2 separate regions of the Homo sapiens genome follow, and region 1 is linked to region 2. The links are contacts of gene promoters, found by promoter capture Hi-C in human tissues and cell types (Jung and others, 2019). All regions are on one chromosome and are shown on one strand. Each heading gives the region's core, a stretch centred on a gene start or on the middle of the fragment in contact. The rest is flanking DNA. Distances are from core to core; before and after follow the strand shown.

The links. The method cuts DNA at HindIII sites, captures the fragments that hold promoters and counts their contacts. A contact is called where the count stands out against the background at its distance.
Region 1: a contact is called between a fragment that was not itself captured here and the fragment with the promoter of PTPRD in region 2, in 2 of the 25 tissues and cell types used here (pancreas and small bowel).

What each region holds. Positions count from the first base shown.
Region 1 is chr9:10,549,658-10,553,927 of GRCh38, forward strand. All of the region lies in intron 2 of PTPRD (protein tyrosine phosphatase receptor type D), which reads right to left. Among named protein-coding and RNA genes, the nearest start is that of PTPRD, 61 kb to the right of the region's middle. The HindIII fragment of the contact is 6,408 bases long and covers 1-4,270 here.
Region 2 is chr9:10,610,780-10,615,176 of GRCh38, forward strand. It overlaps PTPRD (protein tyrosine phosphatase receptor type D), which reads right to left and starts at 2,223. Exons shown (of 46, transcript NM_002839.4): 1 at 1,909-2,223; 2 at 1,619-1,726. It overlaps PTPRD-DT (PTPRD divergent transcript), which reads left to right and starts at 2,427. Exons shown (of 3, transcript NR_110696.1): 1 at 2,427-2,647. RefSeq lists a silencer at 2,168-2,377. The HindIII fragment of the contact is 2,966 bases long and covers 372-3,337 here.

The DNA.
Region 1 (4,270 bases), core at 1,768-4,267, 60 kb before region 2:
TCCCTTCCTTAAGGAGATTCTAGTCTGAGAGTATAAATCCTTAGCTCTAGGAAAAGCCATGTGTACTTCTATGTTGTTTGTCTTCTTCATAAAAACTATCTGATAATTCTTGGGAGTATTCCACTGTACTTCCAGAGAAGAGACCAGGTTTTAAAAAGATTTTTTTTTAATTTAGATTAAAAGGTAATGAAAAAATAATGGTTCACAGAACAATTCCCTCCTCCCAACCAATGTGTCTTCTATCATTCCTCAAAATTGTTACCCCAACTTTATTGTGTTACCCATCCTCATCTTTCCTTTAAGCATAGTGCCTTGAACGTTTCCAAGTATTTCACCCCTCTGGCAGGATTGATGAGGATGGATAGGTTGGATCCCATCAGTGACATTTTCAGAACAATGAAATCTAAGTGCATCACAGATGAAAGAAGAGAAAAGTGACTTAAGGGACTGTCTGATTACAAATGCAAATGCAAAGCTGCTCCTGACAATAACCCATTGCTAATCAATTTCCTATAACTTTCACTACAGTTTCCTATTCCAAACATTCTTCACTATCCACAAGTCCCCTTTGCTAAACTATTAACTGACAAAATAAATCAAGTACTTTCTTTTATACATATATAATTTTTTAAATTTAGATTCAGAGGATACATGTACAGGTTTGCTACATGGGTATTTTGCGTGATGCTGAGGTGTAATTTGGATTTCCTTTAAGCAGAGTCTGACATGATGATTTGGGTGAAGTTAGTCTAGGATTTAATTCCAGGAAACAGAAGTGAGGGAGTAGGGAAGGATGAAAGACAATAAAGTGTGCTTCACTGAGCTGGTTGCTGATTTAGGCAAATGGAAATCAATCTTTTTGGAGACCCTCTGAGGAGTCCTGTAGAACCTACCTCAGAATTACCACACTGAAAGACAGGAAGGCTGGTAAAATTAGACTCATTTCACCCATTGGTTGAAAATGGTCCTTGGGTGCACACAAACCCAAAGGCACATACACTTTGGAGCTGAGAGAGTGTGTTTTAGAGAAAGCCTAAGGCAAAAAAGCAGAAATACCCCATGATATGTGCTTCAGGTGGGATGCTGGAAAGATGCAAAGAACTATCTATCTCAGCTTCAGCTCTTCTGAAATTGGTTGGGCAAAAGAAAGGTGCCACCAGTGGCCAGATATAAGCTTTTTCTCCACCTCTACCTCTCTTTCTAAATGTTATTCCACACATCATTACATATATTGGCATGGTTCCCATGGCCTTATTCACTTCGGTATTAACTTTCATTCTCCTATGGCTGTACACTGTACACACATTTCTAAACTTGCCCTTCATAACCAAAACCAGGTCTCCCTTAATAGCATGGAGACTTTGACACAACTCTGTCATTAAAATTACATATTAGGCTGAGTGCAGTGGCTCATGCCTGTAATCGCAGTCCTTTGAAAAGCCAAAGTGGGAGCATCACTTGAGGCCAGAAGTCCAAGACCAGCCTGGGCAACAGAGTGACACCCCCAACTCTGCAAAGAAACCTTAAAAAAAGTAGCCATGTATCATGTCACACACTTGTAGTCCCAGCTACTTGGAAGGCTGAGGCAGGAGGATCCCTCATGTCCAGAGGTTCCAGGTTACAGTGAGCTATGATTATGCCACTGCACTCCAGTTTGGACTACACAGGGAGACCTTGTCACCAAAAATAAAAAATAAAAATAAAAATTACATATTTACCACCGTGATTCATGTTCCTTGTGCTATGGTTTGAATGTCTATGTTCCTCAAAAATATATATGTTGAAATCGTGACCCTGAAGGTGACAGTATTAGGGAGTAGAGACTTTTAAGAGGTGATTATGAAGGTCCTGAAGAAGAAGGCCTCATGAATGGGAATTGTGCCTTTGTAAAACAGGCCCTAAAGAGCTGCCTTGCCCTCTCCACATGCATTAAGTCTATATCTATAAACCAGACATGGAATCTGCCAGTACCTTGATTTTGAAATTTCCTGGCTCTATTATAGAATTATAAGAAATAAACTTCTGTTGTTTACAAGTTACCCAGTCTATGGCATTTTGCTACAGTACCTTGAATGAACTAAGACAACTTGCTTCCCACTATTGCTTCCAGACCATTCATGTTGGGCTTTGGCAGGATCCAAGCTGAGAAAGTACCAGCATATGCCCAGAAAAAAAACTAGTGAAAAATGACTTTACATTATTCAGAATCCTGAGACTTGAAACATGCTGTCTTTCATTTCTACCATGTTTGGTTACTACTTCAAGTACTCCCTTTCTGCACATTCATCCACTCAGTCGAATTTTCTACTTTGCATGCATGTTTTCAACACCTAATGCCAAATCACTTCTCTATGGAGGTGCTTTGGAGTCTTCAAGCAAACATCTCTCCCACAAATTTTCAAAGGATTCATGTTATATCACTTGGCTCAAATGAATGATTGTCTCTTTTTATTAGTACAATTTTGCAGTCATTTCAAGAGGTTCATCCTCCTATTCACACTGTTAATGGAGTTTTGAGGTGGTGGTATCATTTTTTTGTAACTCCAAGTTAGTGTGTGCAGGCCATTCGACACTAATAGAACAGAAAACCAAGCTTTTTTATCTGTATTAAGAATTTAAGGTATCATCATTCCAGTCCAAAAGTTTCTAAATTCTCTAAATATGAATGAGCTATCACACCATGCTTTTGGATACCTATTGCTCCCCAAACTCTTAATTTTGCAATCACAGAGAATTTCTTGAGTGCTGAAACCTTAAACTCCATCATGCTCTTGACCCAAACTTATTATTTCACACTCTTCTCATTCTTCTGTCTTTTTTTTCTACATGATCATGTGTAACAGTGTCTTGACCCTTTTGTTAAGTTTTTCAGTTTTTCCTCCTATCTCCAGCCATCTTAGAATCCCATAATGCATCACATTTATATCCCTACCACTGTGGACGCTAGATCAACCAATTGCTCTTTCCTCTCTCCAACTTCCATTCTGTTGTCAAAAAATAACATATCTGAATGCAAGAGGAGCACTGCAGATTTATGGCAGGAGATTTCTATTTCCTTTCAGTCTTCTAGAGAAAAGAGAAAGAAGTGGCCATTCTGCTCTCCCATGGAAAGAAAAAAAAAACTCACATTGGATAAGCAACAGGATCTTCACATGGCAACAGCACAGGTTGAGGCATTCCTATCTTCTCTGTATGGAAAAAAGGAAACCTATTCTTGTCCTAAATTGGGTCCCATGACTCTCCCAATAGATACAATCCAGTTTCTGGAGATTCACGTTGCTTGATATAGTAGTCTTGATGATGGAGTTTATGATGACTATTTGTCCTAGGGTAGATTTATTTACAGTTCAAAGTGGGACACAAGAATTCAGCTGAGGCAGTCTGTGCCTCCAGTTGACCATTCCCTGAGCCCATCATAGTGATCACTAGCAACATCTCCATGCTGAGAATCACAGAAGCACATCTGGATTTGTTATATTCCTGTCCATCCAGCCTAAGGAGGAGAGAATGTAGTAGGATACAGCACAGTCCCCACCCAGGCAGAAAGCAAAGTAATAATTGCATGTGGAAGATCATTTATGAGCATATCTTAGATCCTAGCAGAAAATGAAAAACACCTAGAAGGCTGAAACTTTTGTGATTATGCTTGAGATGGGTCAAGTCATAGACTCATATGTTAACAATCTTTATTTTTTTTTTTTTTACTTAAAGATGTAATGGTTATACAGGAAAAAAATCCTACACATAAAATAGTTCACAAAAAATAATTAAAATTCTCATCCCTGAGTTGTATTCCAAAAAGAAACAGCTATAACTTGTTTGTTATGTATACCTCCAGAGATTTTTCCAAAATATGCAAGTATGTACATATTCTCTCCAAGGATAGACATTCACCTGTGTACTTTCTTTTTATAACACAAAATCATTTCATATGCAACTGAGTTTCATCTGGCTTTATTTACTTGTCAATATATTTTAGGACTCTTTCTAAAGTGGCATGTATAAATCAAACAAATCCAATTCATTTTAAGAACTGTGAATATATATGTATACACACATATATTCAAAGAGAGAGAGAAGGAGAAAGAACTATGCAGCTAGTTTTCTTATTAATAATGTTTATAGTGTTTTAAAATCTTCCAGTTACACAAATTAGTCAATGAATGTAATTAATATATGTTTTTACTCACTTGTACAGCTATATCTGTTAGATTTATACAGTTTAAATTACTGAGTTAAAGTATGCTAAAAATTTACATTTTGGTAAACT
Region 2 (4,397 bases), core at 973-3,472:
TAACTGTTCTATTGTCCTGTCTCATTACCCTAAAAACTTATGGCCCAAGATATTTAGAGCTTTCAACACTGAGTAATCAAAACAACTCTAAAACATCTCTACTTTTTTGTAATAATTGTAACTTAGCTTACTCTTATAATTTCTAAAACCAATCCCCCATGAATACAGATGCTTTTATATACTCACTTAAGTAAATAAGGAGGTAAAAATATACTCATTCTACCATTATCAACAATTAAATACAAGGAAGCCCTTAGGTATAATTAATAATAAGCTGCTTTATTGAAAGAAATTCTCTGAGATAAGTACTTTTACTTTTCAATCTGGTTTTTAACTTATAAGGGGTTTTTATTAAAAAGTATGTATTATACTGAGAAAGAAATTAACAGTTAAAGATAAAAGGGATAAACTTTTTCTAATCACTATTAGACTCTAGTCAGTATAAGTACTACCATGTCAAAAAACTTAGGATTTGTTAAAAATCAGGTCTGTTTTGTCTAAGTTGCAACTCCTACTGTATCTACTGTATATGTAACAATGCAAGAAGAATTAGATTCAGAATCCATTTGGCAGTGATAAAGAAAAAAATGCTGAAATGTTATTGATTCTCTCCCTCTTGTGCAAAACAAACTGAGTCAACTATATTTTTCCTGACATAACACAAAGGTTTTATTTAGATATTACAAAATATTGGCAAATGTTAGACTACATGTTTTTTATATATATGTATAATGAACTTATTAACCCTTTTGTAGAAAGAAGAGTGTCCTACTTCTGTAAAAAGAAATGCTACAGCTACTGACATGGTGATGTTAGCCCCAAGAGGAATACTGCCTGCAAAAGTTTTTGATGCAGAGATATTCAGCCTTAGGAGACACCTTAAACCTGTCACTGGCTGCTGAGCCCTGTCAGAGTTTATAACCCGCTGTGTCAAAGTCACAGTCTCAGCCCTGCCCTCTCCAAAGTATTTTTCACATTCTCTCTCCAAATTAAGTTCATTCTAATTCTCCAACTATTCTAGTTCCAGGATTTTCCTCCAATTATTATCTCCTTACAGGCATGAAGAAATCGCAACAGAATTTTCATCTGGTCTTTCAAACCATCCTTATTAACTTTCCCTTTTCCGCCCCCCCCCCCTTTTTTTTTCTAGAGCTTTTCAGAACTAAAGATAAAACAACCAACCAACTGAAGTCAGAGTAGGGTGGGAGTTAGCATGGATTAGGGCTGAGGTTGAAGGTGGCAGGAGAAGTGAGCCAGTAGGGTTAGATTTTTCAAGCTTTTTCTAGATAACCACCCTTAAATCTTAGAACCAACCAATGTTTAACAAAGCAGGCTTCCAATAGCCCTTGAACAATAAACGTTTAAAAATCAGTTTTCCAGTAAGGCTGCCCATACTGATCCCATATCGAAGTCTTCTAAGGGCTCTTCCAAAAAAAAAAAAAAAAGAAAAAAATGCTTAGCGAACCACTTCTCAAATAGGAGCTACTGAAGTTATATAAGTCAAGTTATTCCCAGGTAAAATGAATAAACTGTCCACAGCATTGGACATTGGGCATTGAAAAGCATCAGCATATGCTTCACTTTAGAGAAAAGAAAGACAGAAGCACAGTTTACTTACTAAAGCAGCCGCTCCAGTCCTCCTTGGAAACCCTGAGGAGTCTTCTCTTTTCTTTCCTACCAGTCAAATAAAGAATTGTCTTTCTATTCCACACAGGCCCAGAATAAACTGCAAAAAGGGATGGCACATGCACAGCAGCCCGTCAGGGTTTGGCTTTGGTGGGGTGCTTCGATTTCTGATTGTTTCAAAAGTGGGATCTTCTTTTCCGGAGGGAGGGGGCAAAGGAAGAAAAAGAAAGCGCGCTCGGAAAGCCGGCTTGGGTCCTGCTAATTATTCTGAAGGCAAAGTACCTGCACTCTCCCCGCCGAGGCTGGCTGGCGGCGCCGCGCCGGAGGGGAGGAGGCTCGGGAGGAGGAGGAGAAAGAGCAGCGGGAGGACTCGGGCTGGGAGGGGAGCGCAGGGTTGGGGAGGCCGATGAGCGGCTCCCGGCTCCTCGGAGAAGCAGCCGAGACGGCAAGGAGGAGGCGAGGCTCTGTCGGGGCGAGGCGCTGCCCCCACGCGCTCCGGCCGCCGGCTGCGGGCGCGGCTGGGCGGGGAGCCGAGGCGGCCGCTCCCGCACTCGCTCGCTCGCTCGCTGGCGCTCCCTCCTCGTCTCGCTCGCACTCACAGGCACACACCCCACGTCTCCAGCAGCTGCCGCTCGGCCTCACGCACTCACCTGCATTTCCTTAACGAGCCACTTGATGGCTGCCAGCGGCGTGGGCCCCGCTCCGGCGGGCGGGGGCCGGGGCGGGGAGAACGCGGCGCGGGATGCTCCGAGCGCCCGCTGGGGAGAGAAGCGGCGGCGGCGGCGGCGCTGCGGGCGCGCCAGATGGGGCGGGAGGAGGGGAGACCCGGCACCCACCGGCCCAGAGCTGCCTGACGCGGCCTGGGCGGACCCCGCCGCCCGGGTGCCTAGGCACGATTCCAGGGATCCAGGGTAAAGCGGTTCGCGCGGGAACAGGAGGATATGTCAGGCACAGGCTATTCCCCATCACTATAGCCACAGAGGACTGGTCCAGATGCGGATCCCGATCTGTGCTTCTTCAGGTGTTCGCGTGCTTTCGGTTATTATTATTATTATTATTTTCCGAGGGAGGCTGTCGGTAACACCTAAGGGGTAGTGGGTGTTAATAGCTGGGGGACGTACATTTGATTTGCAATGGAATCGATGCTTATGAAGAGCAGACTTAGGGAGGTGAAGGGCAGGGGCACAGGGGTTGCTTGGCGGAGGGGGTGTACTTCGGCTGAGCTGGATGGAGTTTTCAGTCGGGGCGCTTGGCAGTCTGGCTGGGCTTGAGGGAGGGATAGAGCTCTGCCAAGGTGGTAGCTGAGAAGGGAAAACCTGTACAAGAGTTGCTGAGAATATGCCTCGCTGCAGAGGAGAGGACATGGATGCAGGGAGCGGATTCTTCCCCACCTCCTCCTTACCCCAAGGTAGAGTGGGGTATCGGAGTGCATCAGATGTGGTGTACCACAGACTCGGGAGACAGGGGAGGAGGAACTTAGACCCCCAGCGAAACTAGAAATAAGGTTTGGAGCTGGGGGGAGAAGAAGGGGCAGGATGAGAGAAAAACAGCAGGAAGCTTTTTGTCATTTTACTATCTTTCATGTCTCATCAGAGCATACAGCTATAGGCAACAAATGCTCTGTCTCTTGATAAACAGAGAGCAATGTCACCATGTCGGTGCGTTTTCTAAAAAGCCAAAATAATTATCCTGTTTGTAATATGCAACACAGAGCATTCCAGGTACCATCTGGTCAAAGGTTCTGTAAGCACTGTAGAAGAAAACAAATAAAAAAAGAACAACGAAAAACCAGTTATCCATCTACTTTCCTTATATGTCAATGATCTAATCGCAGAAATGTCACTTTCTCCCGAAGAGAAATAAAGCTTAGTCACTATAGGTGGAATTTTCCCCAGGGTCCCTTCACCTTTTTCTTTTCATACCTTCTCCACTGCTTGCTGTGTCCCTTTGCTCTTTAAAAGGGACCCTTCTCCTGAACCCACGCGCTGCCGGGTTCCCTGCTCAGCCTCCCTAAAGCCACGGAGCCTACCCATCCAAGAAGGTTCCCATGCACAAACAGTCATCATCACTTAAAAAGGTTCTTGGAAATGACAAGATATGAACGAAAAAAAATTACACCATATGTGCAAGTGTGTGTGCATGTGTACATATTTTTGTAATTATACAAAGCACTTGCCCCTCTTACGGTGCTGTCTCCCCAAGATGATGATGACTGACTCATATTCTCTCTCTCTCCCTCCCTCCTTCTCCCTTTCTGCACAAATACACACCACTCACTCCTGTCTCAGTTCCTTCCTGTCAGTGTTCAATAATGGTTTTACATGAACTTTCTGTTAGGCAGCCTCTGACTACCAAGGGCGAGTTGGAGTGGATTGGTAGGAGGGAGGCTGGTCTCAATGATGCCGCTCTGTTTCCTGCCATCCCTCAGTCATTACATACACTACTGTACTTAATGCCAAGTAGAAGCAGAAATGATTTCCTCTCTTGCTAGTCACAATAATATATTTGTCCTCCCTCAGAAACACAAGTAATTAATAATAAAAGAAATAATGCATCTTGAAACCATGGGAAGAGCAGATGGAGGCTGATGTGGTTGTGTTAGTCACCTTTTCTGTTGTTGTTGTTGCAAAGACAACGTGACCACCTCTCCCTTTCTACTGCTTCTGGTGGGTTAAGCAAAGCATTTGGCCCTTTTACTGTATTCTCTTTTCCATCTTTCCCTTGACAATAGTTTGTGTGTTTTAAGTAAAGATTTCATTCTGCCAACCCGC